7 separate regions of the Homo sapiens genome follow, and regions 1, 2, 3, 4, 5 and 7 are each linked to region 6. Evidence: promoter capture Hi-C in 16 types of primary human blood cells and fetal thymus (Javierre and others, 2016). All regions are on one chromosome and are shown on one strand. Each heading gives the region's core, a stretch centred on a gene start or on the middle of the fragment in contact. The rest is flanking DNA. Distances are from core to core; before and after follow the strand shown.

What was found. Contacts are between HindIII fragments. The CHiCAGO score rates a contact against its expected background, and 5 or more counts as called.
Region 1: a fragment that was not itself captured here is called in contact with the fragment with the promoter of ANAPC13 in region 6 in 2 of 17 cell types (naive CD8 T cells and non-activated CD4 T cells); the score reaches 8.7 in naive CD8 T cells.
Region 2: a contact is called between the fragment with the promoter of FAIM here and the fragment with the promoter of ANAPC13 in region 6, in 4 of 17 cell types (naive CD8 T cells, total CD8 T cells, non-activated CD4 T cells and 1 more). The highest score is 9.3, in naive CD8 T cells.
Region 3: a contact is called between the fragment with the promoter of ARMC8 here and the fragment with the promoter of ANAPC13 in region 6, in 2 of 17 cell types (total CD4 T cells and total CD8 T cells). The highest score is 6.3, in total CD4 T cells.
Region 4: a contact is called between a fragment that was not itself captured here and the fragment with the promoter of ANAPC13 in region 6, in 1 of 17 cell types (total B cells). The highest score is 6.1, in total B cells.
Region 5: a fragment that was not itself captured here is called in contact with the fragment with the promoter of ANAPC13 in region 6 in 2 of 17 cell types (total CD4 T cells and non-activated CD4 T cells); the score reaches 8.4 in total CD4 T cells.
Region 7: the fragment with the promoter of COPB2 here is called in contact with the fragment with the promoter of ANAPC13 in region 6 in 6 of 17 cell types (total CD8 T cells, total B cells, total CD4 T cells and 3 more); the score reaches 11.1 in total CD8 T cells.

The regions. Positions count from the first base shown.
Region 1 is chr3:138,167,398-138,170,346 of GRCh38, forward strand. DBR1 (debranching RNA lariats 1) reads right to left here. Exons shown (of 8, transcript NM_016216.4): 4 at 2,710-2,795. Among named protein-coding and RNA genes, the nearest start is that of DBR1, 6.0 kb to the right of the region's middle. The HindIII fragment of the contact is 4,308 bases long and covers 1-2,949 here.
Region 2 is chr3:138,607,462-138,610,262 of GRCh38, forward strand. It overlaps FAIM (Fas apoptotic inhibitory molecule), which reads left to right and starts at 1,310. Exons shown (of 6, transcript NM_001033031.2): 1 at 1,310-1,476. RefSeq lists a silencer at 1,398-1,857 and an enhancer at 1,958-2,047. The HindIII fragment of the contact is 4,797 bases long and covers 1-2,801 here.
Region 3 is chr3:138,185,989-138,188,688 of GRCh38, forward strand. ARMC8 (armadillo repeat containing 8) reads left to right here and starts at 1,313. Exons shown (of 22, transcript NM_001363941.2): 1 at 1,313-1,611. The coding sequence starts at 1,567. The HindIII fragment of the contact is 21,816 bases long and covers 1-2,700 here.
Region 4 is chr3:130,899,070-130,902,041 of GRCh38, forward strand. The region is part of intron 2 of ATP2C1 (ATPase secretory pathway Ca2+ transporting 1); the gene reads left to right. Among named protein-coding and RNA genes, the nearest start is that of ATP2C1, 6.5 kb to the left of the region's middle. RefSeq lists an enhancer at 2,116-2,165. The HindIII fragment of the contact is 630 bases long and covers 1,322-1,951 here.
Region 5 is chr3:130,743,455-130,746,368 of GRCh38, forward strand. It overlaps PIK3R4 (phosphoinositide-3-kinase regulatory subunit 4), which reads right to left. Exons shown (of 20, transcript NM_014602.3): 1 at 2,864-2,914; 2 at 1,032-1,810. The coding sequence starts at 1,764. Among named protein-coding and RNA genes, the nearest start is that of PIK3R4, 1.9 kb to the right of the region's middle. The HindIII fragment of the contact is 1,807 bases long and covers 470-2,276 here.
Region 6 is chr3:134,484,682-134,487,433 of GRCh38, forward strand. ANAPC13 (anaphase promoting complex subunit 13) reads right to left here and starts at 1,304. Exons shown (of 3, transcript NM_015391.4): 1 at 1,271-1,304. It overlaps CEP63 (centrosomal protein 63), which reads left to right and starts at 1,376. Exons shown (of 15, transcript NM_001353108.3): 1 at 1,376-1,521. RefSeq lists enhancers at 959-1,078, 1,109-1,208, 1,289-1,398, 1,490-2,308. The HindIII fragment of the contact is 3,493 bases long and covers 1-1,483 here.
Region 7 is chr3:139,388,303-139,391,002 of GRCh38, forward strand. It overlaps COPB2 (coat protein complex I subunit beta 2), which reads right to left and starts at 1,345. Exons shown (of 22, transcript NM_004766.3): 1 at 1,246-1,345. The coding sequence starts at 1,248. It overlaps COPB2-DT (COPB2 divergent transcript), which reads left to right and starts at 1,501. Exons shown (of 5, transcript NR_121609.1): 1 at 1,501-1,631. It also overlaps the pseudogene LOC124906339. RefSeq lists enhancers at 1,023-1,272, 1,069-1,630, 1,563-1,862, 1,631-2,193, 2,073-2,182. The HindIII fragment of the contact is 7,530 bases long and covers 1-2,700 here.

The DNA of each region.
Region 1 (2,949 bases), core at 168-2,667, 3.7 Mb after region 6:
CACCCACTGAGATCTCTAGAATTCTGTATAATTCATTCTAAGGACACTTTAAGAGAGTGATAAAAATACTAGGCAACTCATTCATCTAGGCAAAGAGAAGCTGCATTTTCTCTGCTCATAAATCATTCTTATTTTCAGTGGCAAGGCAAGGCAATGGAGACAGACTCTGATTAGACTGCCAGTCATCTAAGATCTTTAGCACTTAGCTTCTAAAATACACGATAACCATAGTTCTTTTCCTCTTTGGTAAAGAAATTATTATTTTGGGCCGGGCGCGGTGGCTCACGCCTATAATCCCAGCACTTTGGGAGGCTGAGGCAGGTGGATCACCTGAGGTTAGGAGTTCGAAACGAGCCTCACCAACATGGTGAAACCCCATCTCTACTAAAAATACAAAAATTTAGCTGGACGTTGTGGCATCTGTCTGTAATCCCAGCTACTAGGGAGACTGAGGCAGGAGAATCGCTTGAACCCAGGAGGTGGAGGTTGCAATAAGCCGAGATCATGCAATTGCACTCCAGCCTGGGCCACAAGAGTGAAACTCCATCTCAAAAAGAAAAAAAAGAAAAAAGAAATTACTGTTTTGAAGATCCAGAGACACTAGATTTCACGAGACCTCTAACATGACTGATTCAGTAAACCCAAAGATTTACCAGGAAAAAAAAAATTCTAATAGGCTCACATAGTATACACTAAAAAACTGTGTTTACTACATAAATTAGTATTTCATTAAACAACTTAAGGAAACAAAATATACTCCAGACTTTACTTATCCCCAGAACCTTCAAGTAATCTGAAACGAATACTTGAAAAATGAAATTAAAACAACTTAAATACCGGCTGGGCACAGTGGCTCACGCCTGTAATCCCAGCACTTTAGGAGGCCGAGGTGGGTGGATCGCCTGAAGGTCAGGAGTTCGAGACCAGCCTGGCCAACATGGTGAAACCCCATCTTTATTTAAAATACAAAAAATTAGCCGGGCGTGGTGGTGGGCGCCTGTAATCCCAGCTACTCAGGAGGCTGAGGCAGGAGAATCGCTTGAACCCAGGAGGCAGAGGTTGCAGTGAGCCAAGATCGCACTGTTGCACTCCAGCTTGGGCAACAGAAGTGAAACTTTGTCTCAAAAAAAAAAAAAAAAACTTAAATAACTGCTCAAGACAATACAAAATATTAGATATTAGATAGATATGACTAACCACTGAATAACTGGTATGGCCAACAGATGCAACAAAAATTCAAACTAGGGTAATGACTCTAAACTAGAGAAGTCATGGCTGGCTGGGCATGGTGGCTCATGCCTGTAATCCCAGCACTTTCGGAGGCCAAGGCAGAAGGATCGCTTGAGTTCAAGAGTTTGAGACCAGCCTGGGCAACATGGCGAAACTCTGTCTCTAAAAAATATGAAAAAAATTAGCTGGGCGAGGTGATGCATGCCTATAGTCCAAGCTATTCGGGAGGCTGAAGTGGGAGGATCACCCAAGCCTGGCAGATTGAGGCTGCAGTGAGTCAAGCCATGATCATACTACTGCACTCCAGCCTGGGTGACAGAGTGAGACCTTGTCTCAAAAAAAAAAAAGAAGAAAACTCATGGTTGGGAAATGGCATCTAAGTTGGGTCTTAAAGGACTGGTAGGATTTAGATAGGTGAAAGAGAAAATCTATTTAAGGGAACTGTATGCACAGGGCATAAAAGAAACACTTGCAAGAATTGTTAGACTCCTGCAGAGGCTCTAGAGACAGTGTGATGGGCATGAGTGCAGTCAGGCAGGCTCTACCACTAAACTTTGGGAAGTCCTGGGCAGGTTACTTACCTGTCTGAGCCTTGGCTTCTCATCCTTAAAGGGATGAAGTTAAGAGTTACATCTATTTCATAGGGTTTGAGTGGAGATTATATGAAATACCAAGTGTGAAGTCTGTTTAGCCCAGTGTCAGCCATGTAATGGGTTCTCAAACAACCTAGTTTCACCTACTCTGCAATTAAGCAGTGTTTCCATACCACCTTCACAATTTTCCCATTTCCTCTATCATCTTTACTATTACTTATTTTCTATTTAATACCATTACTTAATTACTATTACATAAAATAAAATGTTTATTTCAATATTTTCTTTAAAATATCACTTTAACATTTTATTTTAAATATCACTTTAATAGGTATTCTTTAGCCTTAACCTAAGTAATATTTGAAATCATGAATTAAATCTTTCATTCTTACTAAAATAAACTCGTAATTATTGAAGTAAAAAAAATTTTGCCGGGCACAGTGGCTCACACCTATAATCCCAGCACTTTGGGAGGCCAAGGCAGGCGGATCACCTGAGGTCAGGAATTTGAGACCAGCCTGGCAAACATGGTGAAACCCCATCCCTACTACAAATACAAAAAATTAGGCAGGTGTGGTGGTGTGCGCCCATAGTTCCAGCTACTCAGAAGGTTGAGGCACAAGACTTGCTTGAACCCAGGAGGCGGAGGTTGCAGTGAGCCGAGATCGCGCCACTGCACTTCAGCCTGGGTGACATAGTGAGACTCTGTCTCAAAAAAAGAAAAAAAAAAGGTTCATCTGTGAACCTCCTAAAAACTCAAGATCCACATTTTAAAAATACAGAATTGCTCTTCTTGAAAGTAGTATACCAATATGACCAAAATACATTTTGGCACAGAATTACTTTAAAATGTTTTCAAGTCTGCTGTAATGCGCTTTTTACGTACCTGTTTTAATTTATAGACTTCAATATTTCTCACATGATATATACTCCTGATTGTAGATGAATTATAAGGGGGGCACTCAAAATGACCTTAGATTGAAGCAGAAAAATAAGCTATATTTAATTTCCTTAAATACTGCAAATACAAAGACATATACACAGGTCTCCAAAATATCATGTACACCTTCAATATATACGATTTTAAAAAGTTATCTAGGGAAATTTTTTAAAAAGATGGTGGACT
Region 2 (2,801 bases), core at 60-2,559, 4.1 Mb after region 6:
CCACCACGCCCGGCTAATTTTTGTATTTTTAGTAGAGCTAGGGTTTCACCACGTTGGCCAGGCTGGTCTCAAACTTCTGACCTCAGGCAATCCGCACCTGGCCTCCCAGAGTGCTGGGATTACAGGTGTAAGCCACTGTGCCCGGCTGTTTTTTTTTTTTTTTTTTTTTGAGACAGAGTCTTGCTCTTCGCCCAGGCTGGAGTGCAGTGGCTCAATCTCAGCTCACTCCAACCTCCACCTCCCAGGTTGAAGCGATTCTCCTGCCTCAGCCTCCCAAGTAGTTGGGACTACAGGCATGCACCACCACGCCCCTCTAAGTTTTATATTTTCAGTAGTGACGGGGTTTTGCCATGCCTGCCTCAGCATCCCAAAGTGCTGGGATTACAGGCGTGAGCCACTGAGCCCGGCTGTTTCTTTTTGTGTGTGTTTTTTTTAATGAAACAGGGTCTCGCTCTGTTGCCCAGGCTGGAGTGTAGTGGTGCAATCACAGCTCTCTGCAGCCTCTACCTCCCTTCAGGGCCCAAGCAATTCTCCCACCTCAGCGTCCCAAGTAGCTAGGATTACAGGCCTGAGCCGCTAATTATTTTCTTTTCTTCTTTCTCATTCTCTCTCTCTCTTTTTTTTTTTTTTTACCATGTTGCCCAGGCTGGTCTTGAACTCCTGGACTCAAGAGATCCGCCACTCTGCCTCCCAAAATGCCGTGATTACAGGTATGAGCCACCACACCCAGCAATGCTGCAAGTCTTATGGGCCAGGATAGTGTAATCTAAGAAATGATATATGAAGAACTCTCACAATAGGGAAGAGGTGAGGAGTGTCCAGGCAGAGAGAAGAGCATTTGCAGAGGCCCTGGGCGAGAAGAAACCTGCATCCTTTAAGGACCTAAATGAAGCCAAGCAGGCAGAGGCTAGATCACACATGGGGGCTTCATGCCCACCTTAAGTAGTTTGGGTCTTTAAAAAAGGAATGAGACTCATAAAGAGGTTTTAAGGAGCGAATGCTATTGCTGCCATGAACAGATATTCCTTCCCCATAGCTGCAGAGCAGGCACAGGGCTGTTTTTGCCCGCCAGTATGTCCCCACCGTCTAGCCCAGAGCGGGGCCAGCGGCCGGCTCCTACCCACACTTGCTGGCAGGAAGACTGGACGCACTGCGGGACATGGTGATGTCCTGGGTTGGGGCTGAGGAAGGCCTATGCGCGGAGGGTGCGGCCTTCGGCTAAGGCAGAGGACCAGGGTTGGGTCCGTGGCGGCGGGAGGGGTGGCCTCCTGCGCTGGTCGCCCCAGGGGACCTGAGAGGCGCGACAAACAGTCGGCGCGTTTGGTACTCGCGCCTGCAGAGCTTTCAACCTCCGCGCCGGCTGCGCCTGTTTCTCGGCCAGGGGAGCAAGGCCACGCGGCCTACGCAGCCGAGTCGGAACCAACCGGTTGTTTGGTGAAACCTACCCCAGAGCCTCCCGCGGCCCACAGAGCACAGGTGAGGCAGCAGACCGGGTGGGGTCGGTGTCGCGCCTGCGCCCGCCCGGACGCCTCGGGCCCGCCCGCTCCGCACCCTGGAAACCCCTGCACTCAGCCCCCCGGCGTCCCCACGCTCTCGGCCCTGCTGCGCCGGCGGCGGCCATCTCTGGGCGGCGGCGGCGGGCGGTGTTTGCGCGGTCGGTGAGACCCGCGCGGGTGAGACGCTGGGTGAGTTCCGGACGCTTCCAGCCGGCCCGCCGGTGATCCCAGACCTCGGGGCGGGACGCGGCTCCCGCTCACCGCCGGCAAAGGTGGAGGTGCGGCGGGGCGCGGGGCGCGGGGCCAGCCCGGGGCGGTGCGGGGGCGTCCCTGCCTAGCGAGGCCCTGCCCCGCGACCTGCCGCACCCTCCTCCGGCCTGTTCGCGACCTCTAAAGATAATACTTCTCACTGTCGAAAACGTGGAACAGAAAGCAAGGAAGCAAGCAAAGCAGCCGTGCCGCTGCTCCCCAGAGACAAGCTGCGTTAACATGAGGGTGTATATTCTTCCAGATGGTTTTTCCTTGTAACATGAGCGGGGCTTGTTTTTGCAGAACCTGCATCATAAAGTGCTGAAACTCTCTCTCTCTCTCTCTCTCTCTCTCTCTCTCTCTCTCTCTCGACTCTCTCTCTCTCGACTCTCTCTCTCTCTCTCTCGACTCTCTCTCTCTCTCTCTCTCTCTCTCGACTGTACATTCCTGTGTGTCAGGTTGACTACCTCATCCATCCCTGACTCTTGGCATGGCTTTGGACTGTGATTTACTAAATGTAGTTTCTCCCTGATGGTGAGCGTACAAGTGGTTTTCAGTTTTTAGTTATTGCAAAAAGTAATTCATTGAGCATCGTTGTATCTGGGTTTTTGAGCGTGATCATTTCTGTAGAAAGAATCGCACAAGATTCGTTCTAAAACAAGATAGAATCCACGGTCTATACCACAAGGCTTCTGGTATAGATTGTGAAATGGCCCTCAGAAAAGTTATTCTCCTTTTTGTACCTCCAGTAAGTAGCATTTGGGAATACTTGGCTCGAGGAGCTTCCTGAGTGATTTTACTGGAGACCCCCCTCACTTCATAAGGGGCCGGCCCGGAGATGAAGATGTCAACACTTGAGTGTGACTTGCATTATTGGCTGGCCCTACCTGGGGGCCTTTGCTGAAAAGGGAACCATGAGCATCTTAGTAACTACTATCATCTAGTAATTTTTAAACTGACTTCGGTTTATCTTGAACGAACCATTTCAGTCCCCAGTAAGAATAAACCTAAGTTAAGGCAAAATTCAGGTGGATTAGATGAACAGTGGCAACGTGT
Region 3 (2,700 bases), core at 63-2,562, 3.7 Mb after region 6:
GACATTTAAACTTTTTGTAGTTAATGTGTACTAGAATAAAAATAAGGAGCACAACAAACTTGATTTCACAGAGTATTATGGTTTAGGATAAAGCCAAAAATTTTTAATGAGTTGAAATTGGCTTTAAATAAAAATATTGAATGAATAATAATACCTAGGTGCAGATTGGCAAAGATTGTGTAGGTGGTGTACAGATTACCCAAGTTTCAGAAATAGTATTATAGCAGAAGGACTACCTAAAATAAAATTCCTGCCTTCCAGGAATTCAACAGTTTGTTAAGGAACACAGACCCATAAGCAGGGGTGGTAAATGCTACACTAAATTTGGAAACCAAGTACAGGAGGAAGACAGGAAAACAGTGAGGAGCAGAGTGCGGGAGAGGCTACCAGCTACAAGACCAGTTGGAAGGCTATTGCTGTAGTCCAGGGGAGAGGTTACAAGAGCCTGAATTAGGGTGTGGCTATAGAAATGGAAGGAATACAAGTAATGTTAACAGGCCAATTGCAACCATACTGTGAAAACCTTACTGGTTGCAAGCAGTACGAAGGTGAAACTTATCCAACCAAGTCAAGGGCAGTGTTGCACACACACACACACACACACACAAAGTAGTAGGACAGCTGAATTAATCAAGTATAATTGAAAGCATACTTTTATTTAGCTTCGGTTATGAGAGTGTTTTAGTGCGAAATATTTAGATATTTGCCCCCATTTTCCCCACTTAACTCAGAAGCTGGAGAAATGTTAACACATATTGTATAACGCTTTCTATGTTCTAGGTTTTTTCTGAGAGCTTCACGTTTGTTGACTCCTCTATCCTCATTAACCTTTATTTTATAGATGAGGAAACTCAAACAGAAGGTTAGATAACTTGCCCAGGGTAAAGCAGCTGATAAATCAAGTAGCTAGGAAGAAACCCAAGCATTCTGGCTATTCTTAACACTACACCAGAATAAACGGGGCCGGCACACAACGCTAAGGCAAGTCACGTATCTGTATCGGATCGTGAAACAATCACTCTTACGGTTGGCAAAGGTTCTGGGATCGCAATTTCCCCACCTATAAAATGGAGATAACGACGCCGGGAGTTTGGTGCAGAGAGAGAGAATGAATATGAAAGTGAACTTCAAACTATGTATGTGGCTCCACGTACTACTTTTTCCAAATATGAATACTGGAATCCATAAACTGCAATTTATCAGTCCGTAAAACTCGTAGCGTCAGGGCGAGACTCCGCCTCTGGGGCCCCGCCCACCGCGAGCGGCAGGTGGGGCCGGCAGATCTTCTTTGCGCATGCGGAAACCGCTGCCCGCTTCCACCTCTAACCCAGGCTCAGAGTAGCTGCTGTTTCTGAGAGAACGATTCGTAGGACAGCCCCTGACGCCATTCCCTTTTGCCCTTCTTTCTGCGGGCCTTTCCGGTACTTGAGCGGTGTCCAGAGCGTGGCCAGTTCTCGTCTATCTGGCTGCCTTTAGGGAGCGGTGCCTAGCGTTGGCCAATAGTTGGCTGTCGAAAGTGCCGGCCCCCGCGCCGGCGCCTGCAGCAGCCGGGTGGGAAGGCTCAAGATGGCGTGCTTGTTGGAGACCCCAATCCGCATGAGCGTCCTTTCGGTGAGTGACCCGCCGCGGCCGCCCGCCCGCCCTCCAGGAAGCCTCATCCCGGTCTCCACCATTCCCCCAAGCGTGGTGTGCCTCCTGGGCACCACCCCCTGGGGTGGACCCCGGCTCAGTCTCGGGCCAGGGAGTGAGCGAGGGTGGAGAGGCGGGATAGACGGGCAGAGGGGACCGCGGCCGAGCCAAAGACGTTTCCAACTCCGGGAGCTCCCGCCGGTGCGGGTTCCCAGGATGGCGTCTGGCAGGCGGGGTGGCTGGGCTTATAGACAACTGGCTGGGCGGCGCGGCTTGGACTTTGCCAAGCGTTTCACTGAGCCTTCCTTTTAGCGATGCCGCTTCCCGGGGGCCGAACGCTCTGCCTTGTGAAGCGCCGGGCTTGCAGCCGGCCTGAGAACGAGCGCCCACTCAGCTCTCCCGGGCTTTGGCAAGAAGAGGTGCAGGCTCCTTGGCCCCCATTTCCTCAGAGCTGCCAGGCCAAGTCTGTGCGGCTTCTATCGCGTCCCAGCACCTGGGCACCGGCTGAAGCAGTTTGCTTTTTGGCAATGGTGATTCGTATCAGCTGCAACTCTTCCTAGTGTGTGTGGTTTTTTAAGCCCCTTTCCTCCGCTCTGCTCAGAGGTCGCGGCTCTGAGTCAGAGGAACTCTATGTTCCCTGTGCCTGGTATTCCGTTTTTCTTTAAGGGGAGTCAAACATTGAAGGGGGGAAAAGGGGGTGAGATTTATTTCCCCATTGTTGAAAGAAGGGAACGTATTGACATGCCAGGAAGTAAAACCTGTTTTTTTTTTTTTTAAAAAAAGTTTTTTTAAAGAAAAAGACGACTTTCACCTTTCACTATGTTGCTCTTGAACCAGGACCAGGAATGAAAGTTACTGGGAGATAACTTCGAAGGATTTTGCAACAAATTCGAGCTGTCCGACTCTGAGAATGGTCAGTTTACCAATGGTTCATTTGCTATTGTTGGAAACAAGCAGGCAAATACTGATTGACCATCTTTTAGACTTGTGGAAGCCAGTCTGATACTGAGAGGGTAGTTGGATTATAAATGACTTGTCGGGTTCCTAGAGTCTTGTAACTACAACCGGTTT
Region 4 (2,972 bases), core at 387-2,886, 3.6 Mb before region 6:
TGCATCCTGAGGTTAATGCCATCATTTCATGAAAGAAAGGATCTCTCAAAAAAAAGGCTAAATTGATAATTTCCTCTTGGATGTATATGACTGCTACTTATATGCATTTGTTAATACAGTTGACCCTTGAACAATGTGGGGGTTGGGGTGCTGACCCACCATGCAGTTGAAAATCTGCATGTAACTTTTAACTCTCTGAAAACTAAACTACTAATAGTCTCTACTGTTGCCTGGAAGCCTCACTGATAACATAAACAGTCAATTAACACATACTTTGTATGCTATATGTATTATATACTGTATTCTTGCAATAAAGTAGAGAAAAAAACTTACCAAGAAAATTATGAGGAGGAGAAAATATATTTATAATTCATTAAGCAGAAGTGGATCACTATAAAGGTCTTCATCCTCATTGTCTTCGCTTTGAGTAGGCTGAAGAAAAGGAGGGGTTGGTCTTGCTGTCTCGGGTGACAGAAGCAAATCTGAGTATAAGTAGACCTTTACAGTTGAAACTCATGTTGTTAAAGAGTCAACTGTGTATCTTCTGTCTTCAGGCTTTAAGTTGCTACGACAAAAGTATAAATCGTAGAATTACAAATAAATTACACCAATTGTGTTAAATTAGGTTGGTTTAGACTAAACCTGTGATGTGTTTAGAAAAAGTTTGAATGAAATGTTGAAAAGCTGTCCTAGATTATAGACAGAAGACAGTAATAGTCGGGGTCAGAAGCATTATCTTAAGATGGCCGTAACTGGGTGTCTGATTCAATTTCTATCTCTGCTTTTTTTAATTCTGCTATAGGTATTAGAGAATGTGTGAATTGGAATTATTTAATATACCTGTTAGTTGTAATTGCTTTCTTAAGTAAAGGCCTTTTGGTTTGACATTTGGTCATTTCGTAAACATGCTGACCTAAACTCGTGTCCCTCCCTCAGAAGGAAATACGTTAATTTAGTATGACATCCTTTTTTTTCCCTTTGTGCTTATTTATTTATTTATTTTTTTGAGATGGAGTCTCACTCTGTAACCCAGGCTGGGCTGGGACACAGTAGCATCATTATAGCTCACCAAAGCCCCTAACTCCTGGACTAATGCGATCTCCCTGCCTTAGCCTCCTGAGTAGCTGGGATTATAAGCACACATCACTATACCCAGCTAATTTCTTAATTTTTTTAAAGACGAGGTCTTGATATATTGCCCATGCTGGTCTTGAACTCCTGGACTCAAGCAGTCTTATTGCCTTGGCCTCCCAAATTGTTGGAATTATAGGCATGAGCCACCGTGCCCAGCTTTAGTATGACATTCTTTATTCTTTTAGAAAGCTTTGAGATATTGATGCATCCTTATAGAAATTACTTTCATTTATTTATTTACTTACTTAAAACAGCTTGATAAAGTTGGAAAAAGCAGGACCCTAAATAATAAATATATTTGCCATCAGCCTTTTATAGGAAAACTCAGAAATAATAAGTGGAAATATTTAGGATGTCACTCATCAGACTTTTTTTTTGAATATGTAAATGTGTTTTTTTGAAAATTTAAACACGCAAAGTAAAAATTAAAAGTTTTGGTTAAGTTGTGAATTTCAGAAATTTATCTTGGTTATGGTGTCCTGAAGTTAAAAAGAATAGAGCATTAGTACATTAGTACATAAACGTTCTGTTATTCTCTGCCTAAGGGCAAGATCCAACTTTGAACCAGGTCCTGGATTTCCTCTCATCTTAAATCGGAGCCTTTTTCATTTGTAGTATAAATAAATTAGCCTTTTGATGCTGTGATTTTATTTGTATATGTTATATATGAGATTTATATCTCTCTTTGTATGCAGGCATTTCACTAGATTTTGTTTGGCCATCTATTTTTAGTGTTTCCCTAGCAGCATGTTTGCTTTACCTGCCTTCATCTAGGTTTCTACATCATCAGGGGTGGAAATATTAGTTGGCTTAATTAAGCTTGGGAGTTGTACCTTACTTGCTCTGTTGAGTGTCAGTTCTACCTTCTTTTGAAGCAGGCAAAAGCAGTTCATGGCACAAATGCCAGAAATAGCATGCAAACCACTTTGTAGTGGTATGCAAACTAATTTCTGCTGTGTCCTTTTCTTAATGCTTGTGAGGGTTACTGTTTACTTAAGAGTTAATATTTGGCTTATGAAACTAGTATCAGATGAGAAATTCCAGCATCCCTCCCCACCCCAGAGAAAGATGTGGTCATTGGGGACTGCTCTGAAGTCTGCCAGCCCTCTATCCTAAAAGTTGGTAGATCAGTTATTATATCTTGATATGTACCCCTAATTCATATGAGGGGCCAAGAGAGATTAGTTACTCCTGATTTCATCTGTTAGAAGATAAAGGGAGTGTGGTTTGTATCTATATTAGAGTAATGGGAATGAAGGGTAGGGATGGATGACAGAGATATTTTACTCCTAGGAAAAATCAGCAGGACTTGGACAGTGACTAGATACAGAGAATTAAGGGAATAGTTGAATCAGACATGACTGCAAGATGTCATTTGGGTCAGTGAAGGTGCCATTGATTGTGGTTGAAGGAGTGAGCCGATTTAGGGGCTGGCTGAAGGGAATATATAGGTCAGACTGTCATGATGTGAGGCTCATATAGCTATGCATGGAGAGAGGTGTTAAATCAAGCACCAGGATTCAAAGTGAGCTCTTGAAGGCAGAGACCTCAATTTGTCCTTTATTCATCTTGAACAGACTCTGGGACGTACCTACTGTCAATTGAATGAAAATGCTGGCTTCTTCCTTCTAAGTGGTTCTCATCTCAGGATTGTTTTGCCCCCGGGGGACATTTGGCAATGTTTAGAGAAATGCTGGGTTGTCACAACTCAAAGTATGCTACTGGCATCCAGTGTGTAGAGACCAGGGATGCTGGTAAGCATGCTACAATCCGTAAGACAGCATCTTCTACCTCCCCCCGCCACCCTCAAAATTTTTTAGCCCCAGATGTCAATGGTG
Region 5 (2,914 bases), core at 123-2,622, 3.7 Mb before region 6:
AATACATGTTGTACATCTTCTCCTGCATACTTGGCAGAAATCTCAAACTTACCATATCTTAAACAGACCTCATCATCTTCCCAACCTAACCTGTTGCTCCTCCTGTGTCTCCCTGTCTCAGGGACCAGCATCACCATCCACTCAGTTTGGTGGGCGAGAGAAGTTCCTGTGACTTCACCTTCCAATGACAGAATCCTAACAATTCTATCTACTAATTATCTCTTAAGCATTACCACTTCTCTCCACTCCTTCCAACTCTGCCACAATCTTAAGCCGGTCACAATCATCTTACCTGGACTGTGGCAGTTTTCTCCTAACTTGTTTTCCTGTCTTCTGTGTAGCTCCCCTGCAAAATTCACTCTCCATGCTCCAGTCAGGCCAGACCCTTTCTGATCTGGCTGAGTTTGGGCCTTGCTTAATTCACACTGTGTTCCAGAAAACACATCAGTGCATCATATTCTGGTCTTTAAGCTTCTGTATAGGCAACATCCTCTGCCTGAAACAAACTACTCTACGAAAGTTAACTCCCAATCAACTTTCAGGTTTCAATGTAAATATCATCTTTCTATTAAAGAGGCCTTTCTTGATCCCACCTCTTGACTCAACACCACCATGAGGACTAATTTAAATATCTATGTGTTCCTATAGCAGCACCCTATGCTTATCACCACCACAGCAATCAACACCGCATTGAAATGTCCTTTTGCAATATCCACGGTCACTTTAAAATGGAAGCATTATGAAAATATATTATCCACCAATATCCCTAGCACTTAGGACAGTGCCTGACACATACAATAAAAGTAGGCAAGCAAATATGTTTATATGTTTGTGTAAATAAACTGCTGTTTGCATTTCCTAGGCATTTAAACATATCCAATGCAGGAATGCTGCCTCTAACTGAAATAGCGTCTGAGGACAAACCAAGACATTAACTTTTCAATATCTGGTGACTAAAAAAAGCCACATTTCTGTTTAACAGTTAAAAGAAAAACACATGCTCCCTTAGCAAATGTGACCCACTCAAATACCTGCTGAAAAGATGTCCATTGCTCTCTTCAACTCTCCTCTTGTTCTCTGATTGCTATTTAAGTCTACAAGCGGAGTTGAAGGATCTCTCATATATTCTAACTCAGTGGCAAACATCCCACCATCAACAAAACGTTCAGGAGCAATATAGCAAGTTCTCCTCCGTGATGTGTCAAAGAAATAATTGAAATCTGCCGGGTTGTCTTCTGGAAGATAAGTGGGCTTAAAACTGGCAAAATCAGTTAGAAGAACCCAATTCCAACTGGTGACCATCACATTCTCAGTCTTGATGTCCCCATGACGAACTCCAGATTTGTGTGCTTGGTCCACAGCTGTCAGGATCTGGAAAGCAATCCAGCGCTTCTCAATGTTATTCAAGAATGGACGGGTACTGATGCGATCATAGAGATTGTCTCGCACATACTGCCTAAAGAGCATAGCTGCTTTCTCAGATGCTTTTTCTGATGCTTTCTGGAAAGGTAGACAATTCTGTGCAGAATTAAGCCTGATTTTCAGTTCCTCCAGCTCTTGTTTATAGCTGGTTAAAGGCAATGTGGGATCCTGAATTGCAAAAACCTTCACAACGACCAGGCCTTCTCGGTGCTTGGCTCGAGCAACTTTAAAAAACCGAGTACTCCCCAGGCTTTTATCATATTCAAAGTCATGAATATCTGAAAAATAACTCTCTACAGAAAGGATCTGGGAGGGAGCAATGCCAGCAAGCTGATTTCCCATAATGGCAAGCACCTCTGTGGTCTTTAGTAAGGTTAGGATATAATACCTGTTTAAAATAAAAACAAATGAAGAAAAAAGACAAGAAACAAAGAAGCTGTGAAACACCATTATTCCATTATTTGGTCTCTTCCAAAAAGACAGATGCAGCATACTTCTCTTCCACTAACAGCACTGTACCTAGCCTTCTGGGGCAGCCTCTAAATTTCACACACATTTATCTAAAAAGACCATGTTATTTTCTCCAAGAAGACCTTGTTATTTTACCTAAAAATACCCTGCTATTGCGCATCGCCATTTCCAGGAGCTGAACTATATTTAGATAGGCCTCTTCAACTTTAAGCCAAAAATGTTAGTTTGTGTTATTTTCTCATATTTAAATTTAAAATATTAATGAGCCTTTACTATGTGTTCCGTGCTGTGCTTGGGGCTATGAGAATTACAAAGTTACCATATGACATAGTTCTTGTCCAAGAATCTGTAGTTTCTTGGAAATAAGAAAGAGACACATTAAAAGCTTAAAACTGGCCGGGCGCGGTGGCTCACGCCTGTAATCCCAGCACTTCGGGAGGCCGAGGCGGGAGGATCACGAGGTCAGGAGCTCAAGACGGGGCTGGCCAACATGGTTAAAATCCCGTCTCTACTAAAAATACAAAAATTAGCCGGGCGTGGTAGTGGGTGCCTGTAATCCCAGCTACTCGTGAGGCTGACGCAGAATTGCTTGAACCCAGGACGCAGAGGTTGCAGTGAGTGGAGATCCCGCCACCGCACTCCAGCCTGGGTGACAGAGCGAGACTCCGTCCGTCTCAAAAAATAAAAAAAAAAAAAGAAAAACTGAAAACTGAAAAGGTCAAACTAAGATCTAAAAATTCAGTTAACTCCTGGACACTTCCTGCCTAATTCCAGTGTGCCCTCTCACCCAGCTAAAAGAAGGTGCAAACTTCGCTGGTCTGCAACAAGAAACCTTGCCACAGATGTTAAAGAAAAGCAGACCAAAGTATACACTAGCTAAACGTACCCCAGGGTTCTGCTAACTCAGGTTTTGCAGGAAATAAATGCCACACATATACACACACGACCTTGAGCACACATAAACATTTACCCTAGGCCTCGGGAAAGTGTCAAAATCGTTCAGAGGCTCACAACGAGGTCA
Region 6 (2,752 bases), core at 54-2,553:
CAAGTGCTCCCCACTTTCCTGCTGCTACTCCTTTGTCCTTGCTGCTCTGTCTCCTGGGATACCCTTCTCACTTTCCTCAGCTGATCCAAACCTGACTTTCGGAGGCCCACGTAGATTTTCCACCTTTGTAAAGTTTTCTCAAATCACTCGAGCTTCAGTAGGCCTTCTATCCTTGAACTCTTGCTTCTTGTCCTAACTTAATCTACTAAACAAGCTAGGTCAGCTTTGTGGTCAATTGCTCAGGTATTATTGCCTCCAACTGTTACGTGTACATTTTGTACCCATGATTCCTTAGTAGATCTTTCCACATTTGGTCTCAATCTTTTTCACCTGTCCCTTCTCCAAACACCTCCAACCCTGTCACATTTTCCAGCCTTGACAGTTAAAACCCCCTTTTCCACATCACTAATGCCACTCTTCCTTTCAAGATAAACGCAGGCGTCAGCTCTTGAAGGTCAACATCCCATTTCCGGGATTAGGCGCGAAGGTGCCTTCCCTCATAAGGGGCTGGAAGGATGGGAAGCATCAAGATAATCAATGCCCAGGGCACACTGATTATCTTGTGTATTAAAGCCACCGTCCCAAGTACTCGTCACCCAGTACGACCACTGTTTCCTGAACAAACTTTTCTTACTCACGTGACAGTCCCGATGCCTGCAATGCTCTTTGTTTCTTCCTTTTTATTCCAGTGAACCCACAGTCAGTCTAAAAATCTTAGGTCCCAGGTCGCTTCCTATAGGAGGCCGCCTCCAAACCCCAGGCTGAGTGCGGTCCCGGTACCCACCCCTCCAGGGGTCTCACAGTTCCCTAAGCACAGAGCATGGCACCAACTGGGGAGTCTGTCAAACAGCCCAGATGAATGTCTTTCCAAACACGCGGTGCCTGCGTTTCCAGGGACAGGGACACGTCTTATCAATTTCTATATATTACAGCTTTGTAAACATAATATTTATAAAATCAAAGCGGGAAAGCCTTGTTCCTTGCTAGAAATGAGCCTCGCAGGCCACCACCATCCGCACCGTACGACAGGCCGTCCCTCAGCTGCGGCTTCCTGCCTCAGGCAGGATGTACCAAACGTGGAAGCGGAGACGGGGAGGTCTGGGGGTGCCACGCAAGTCCCTTTCCTCCCGACACGAGTGCAGTAAAGAAAAACGGTTATGAGCGTAAAGTGACAGCCTCGGCCGATGGGAATAGGGGGAAGTCCGACACTGAGCAACGAACGCATTCCCGCGCCTCCAAAACCTAGGCCGGGGGCGCTGGAAACCCTTACCGGCACCCGGCCACCGCGGCAGACGCTTGCTCCTGCCACGCCCCCCCCCCCTCCCCCGCATCACGTGTCTGCACTCGCTTTCCTCGGATTCCCGGATGTGGGTGAGTTCATTTGCTCGCGTGCAGGGGAAGTCTGGAGAAGGCATTGTTTCAATTATTAAAAGTGTGGGGGCAGTGGGCGGAACAAACGCGCCGACTACAGAGGCTGGACGTAAGCTTAGCGGTGGCGCGCGTGCGCAGCGCCGGCCCGAGGTAACGGCGGGAAGGCTCAGGGGCGTGCTTGCGGCAACCCTGTAACCGCCGGTGCGCAAGTTGGAGGGGCAAGGGGCTGCCGTGTCCTGGTCTGGAGGCGGCCCAGGCTGCCTTGGTGATTCTGGCTTCGCGGCCTCATGGCTTGCGGCCGGTTTGCGCAACGGCCTGCGAACCACCAGGCGCGTCCCCGCCGGCTTGGGTCCGCCCCGAAGCCCAGTCCCTCGGCCTGGCCCGCTATGCCCTGCACACTGGCGGAGTCTGGCGTGGCGCAGCCCGGCGTGGGGTTCGGCCCCGCCAGGTGGTCAGCCCTTCCTCGGAGTCCAGGTGGCTGGGGGCGCTTCGGAGAGTGGCCAGGTGGGCGAGCGAGCTGCGCCCAGTACTCACCTTCCCCGGCGGACCCACCTTCCTTTTCAGCGGAGAGACCCCAGTGCGGCCTCCCTGCCAGGGCTGCTGTCTAGCTAGCGCTGTTGGGACTACTTCATTCACGGCACAAGGGGACCCGCTCATTTAGTGTGGCATGTTAAGGTTGGCAGCTTTTAAAATAGTGAGTTGGTTTAAACGGTTATGTTAGTACAAGAGGTACGGAAATGTGGCATAAATCGTGGACTGAAATTGGAGAACCCTGAACTAACGGCTCCATGCACACAAATGAGGGATAGAAAGAAATAAGGACGGTTTCTTAGGAACACTTTAATCATGGAGATACTTGAAGACAGTACATTTAGGCTTATAATGTGGTTTTTCTTACGTCCCTTACGACATCAGGAGAGTAAAGATGAGTATGATGTCAGAGACAGGTCGTCTTTTACAGTTTCAGCACCGTACGCTGATATGCACAGAGTAGTTTTCCCTGAGCCTTATGTCTGGTTAAACTTATTAAAAGAATTTATTATTTTAATAAAGCAGTATTGTAGGGTAGATGCCCTGTATTTATACAGTTCCTCAAGTGCTTGCATTTATTTTTTAGATACGAGGAAATCATAAGGATCGTTGATTAGATTTCTGTTAGCTGTAGCTTAATGATAAAGTGTATATATTTTCTTATTTGGCATGCAGTACCATTTTTAGATTGATTTTTATTTTGAGTTTGCTTTTTGACTGTGGCATTATCAGTGATCAGGGTAGTAAAAAGCTCTGAAACTAAATTAGAGTAGAGATTTATAAACAGGCACACTGCCTTTTAAAATGTATGTAGATGCAAATCTAAAAGTTGTTTGTAAAAATTGTGTAT
Region 7 (2,700 bases), core at 95-2,594, 4.9 Mb after region 6:
GGAGATTAGCGTGGCCCCTGCGCAAGTATGACACGCAAATCCGTGAAGCGTTCCATATTTTTTATAAAACAAATTAAAAAAAAAAAGAAGGTCCATGGATTGTGGGGGGGGGTGTCTGTGAATGAATGCACTGAATTTTATGCAAAAATGTTTGTTTCTCTGTGCATTTTCCCTGGGAGTATTCCTAACTTTTTCCTAGTTCCAACTTTGCCACAATTAACCTTGTAGAAACATAATTTAAAAAAATTTTTTAACTTAAGATGAGGGACTTAATCCCTAGCGTCTTCAAGCTCCAAAATGTTTGATTCTGTGCTTCATAACAAGTTTTTTTTTTTTTTTTTTTGAGACGGAGTCTTGCTCTGTCCCAGGCTGGAGTGCAGTGGTGCGACCTCGGCTCACTGCAGCCTCTGCCTCCCGGGTTCAAGCGATTCTCCTGCCTCAGCCTCCTGAGTAGCTGGGACTACAGGGGCCCGCCACCACGCCCGGCTAATTTCTTTTTTTTTTTTTTGCATTTTCAATAGAGACGGAAGATATTCTTATACTATCGTTTTCTTTCCTTATTATTATAACACTCTTGTGCAAACTAGTCTAGGGCGTTTTTTAGGGTTACGGTGATAATAACAAAGTGCTCTAACAATTACTATTCTTACCAGCCACTGGATTTGCAAATGCATAAAAGCACACCAGCCAGTGTTATAAACAGCACCCCCTTCCTCCCAACCCTTCTTCTCCCCTTAGAAACCTAACAGCTGAGATATCAAAGCATTTGAAATTCCATTTTTGACTCCATATACATTTGTTTTTGGCTTCTTTGCTTGTTTATAGTTTGTAGCCAGCACACACTATCCCCAGAATAAGCCCAACAGGAGTGTAGATTAACTACCACCGTTTTAAAGGCAAACTTTAGTTTTACCAAAGCCTCCTACGGAGTTCAACACATTCGGCTTCTGTGTTTCCCTACACCACCGATCCCGCTGCAGACTGCAGGAGCTCTGGCAAGCGCCACAAGCGCCAGGGGAGACAAAACCCCTCACTAGCAGGCTTTGCCTCCCCAAATCACCCCGGTCCCCTAGGCCCCACCGCCTTCTCCCTTCCTGGAATCAAACGACCAAGACCCCGCAAGGCCTGAGGCGGCGGCCGCAGCGGGAGCCCAGACCACTGCTTACCGCGGCCCTCAGTCCAGAAGCTCCAGGAATCGGCCGTAACCTATGGGACCCCGCTCCCTTCTACGGGATCTGGACCTACCATGGCTGCGTCGGTCCAATCCCGGGAACCCTCGTTTGTTACCGGCTACTCAGGCCTTGAGATAAACCCACCGATCCACTGACCGTCAGACTGACTGACGTGGAACTTCCGGGAGCCGATTCTCGCGATAGTCAGAGGCCAGGGCCGGAGCGCCTGCGCAAACTGCGCGCAGGGCCGTCGTTTCCCAAGCCCCGCCCCAGTTTCCTAGGCAACGTGGCCTTCCAGACCGCTGGTAGTGGACTTGAGGCTGTCGGGAAGGAGGGGTGTGGCCTAGACCACTAAGGGCCGTGACGTGGTGCCGCTGAGCTTGGACCCCGACCAGAAGATAGAGATTGAAACGATGAGGAAAACGAAGTGCCTAATCCCCGCTGGACGCTAACTGCAGGGCAAGCTCCCCAGTGTTGTAGTTGTGTTTCGGAGGCCGAGAACCGCTATCGGGCTTCCTCGGACTCTGGCCCTGGAGGGGGGAAACGGCGAGGGAGAAGGCGAAACGAGTCTCCAGTGTGTTCTTGGGGCCTGGTGCGAGGCCCAGAGAATTCTCTGCAGGCCTTTGCCCGGGCACTGATTAAGGCTGCGAAGAGACGCACCGGGCTGCGGGCTTAGTAGCTTCAGGCTTCTGAAGTCAGAGGGAGGGCTGAGAGCTTACACTTCTGGAGCTCCCCGGGAGACGGCAACTACCCAACCGTGTGGGTGTGTTTGTGTATGTGTCTTTTGTTGAGCTTCGGCTGGCTGTGTTATTCATTCAACAAATATTTATCGATCTTCGGCAGTGTGTCAGACATACCTTCTTCTCAAATCTTCACATCAAACCTGAATTATCTCCATTTAATGATGAGGAAACTCGGGCTCAAAGAAGTTAAGTGTTCTAGCCAAGACTGCATAGTAAGTGGCAGATAAAACCTCAAAGTTGGGCCGGGCGCGGTGGCTCACGCCTGTAATCCCAGCACTTTGGGAGGCCGAAACGGGTGGATCACCTGAGGTCAGGAGTTCGAGACCAGCCTGGCCAACATGGTGAAACCCCGTCTCTATTAAAAATACAAAATTAGCCTGGCGTGGTGGCGGGCGCCTGTAATCCAAGCTGTTCCAGAGGCTGACAGGAGAATCGCTTAGAACCCAGGAGGTGGAGGTTGCAGTGAGCTGAGATCGCGCCACTGCACTCCAGCCTGGGCAACAGAGCAAGACTCTGTCTCAAAACAAAACACCTCAAAGTTTGTGCTCTTTCTACTACATAAAAATATCTCTTCATTAATGTGGCTGAATTCTAAGGGCCTGTGCCATAGGGGTTACACTACACAATAAAGTTCGAGAACATTTGCCTGTCACACGCACTGCACATCTCCTGTATTTCCTTTTTTTTTTTTTTTTTAAGAAAACATGTGGACCATAGAAAACTTGCCCTCTGGTTACACGTACAAACGTGTATTTTTAACTTGAGAGAAATCTTAAAGTCTTTTC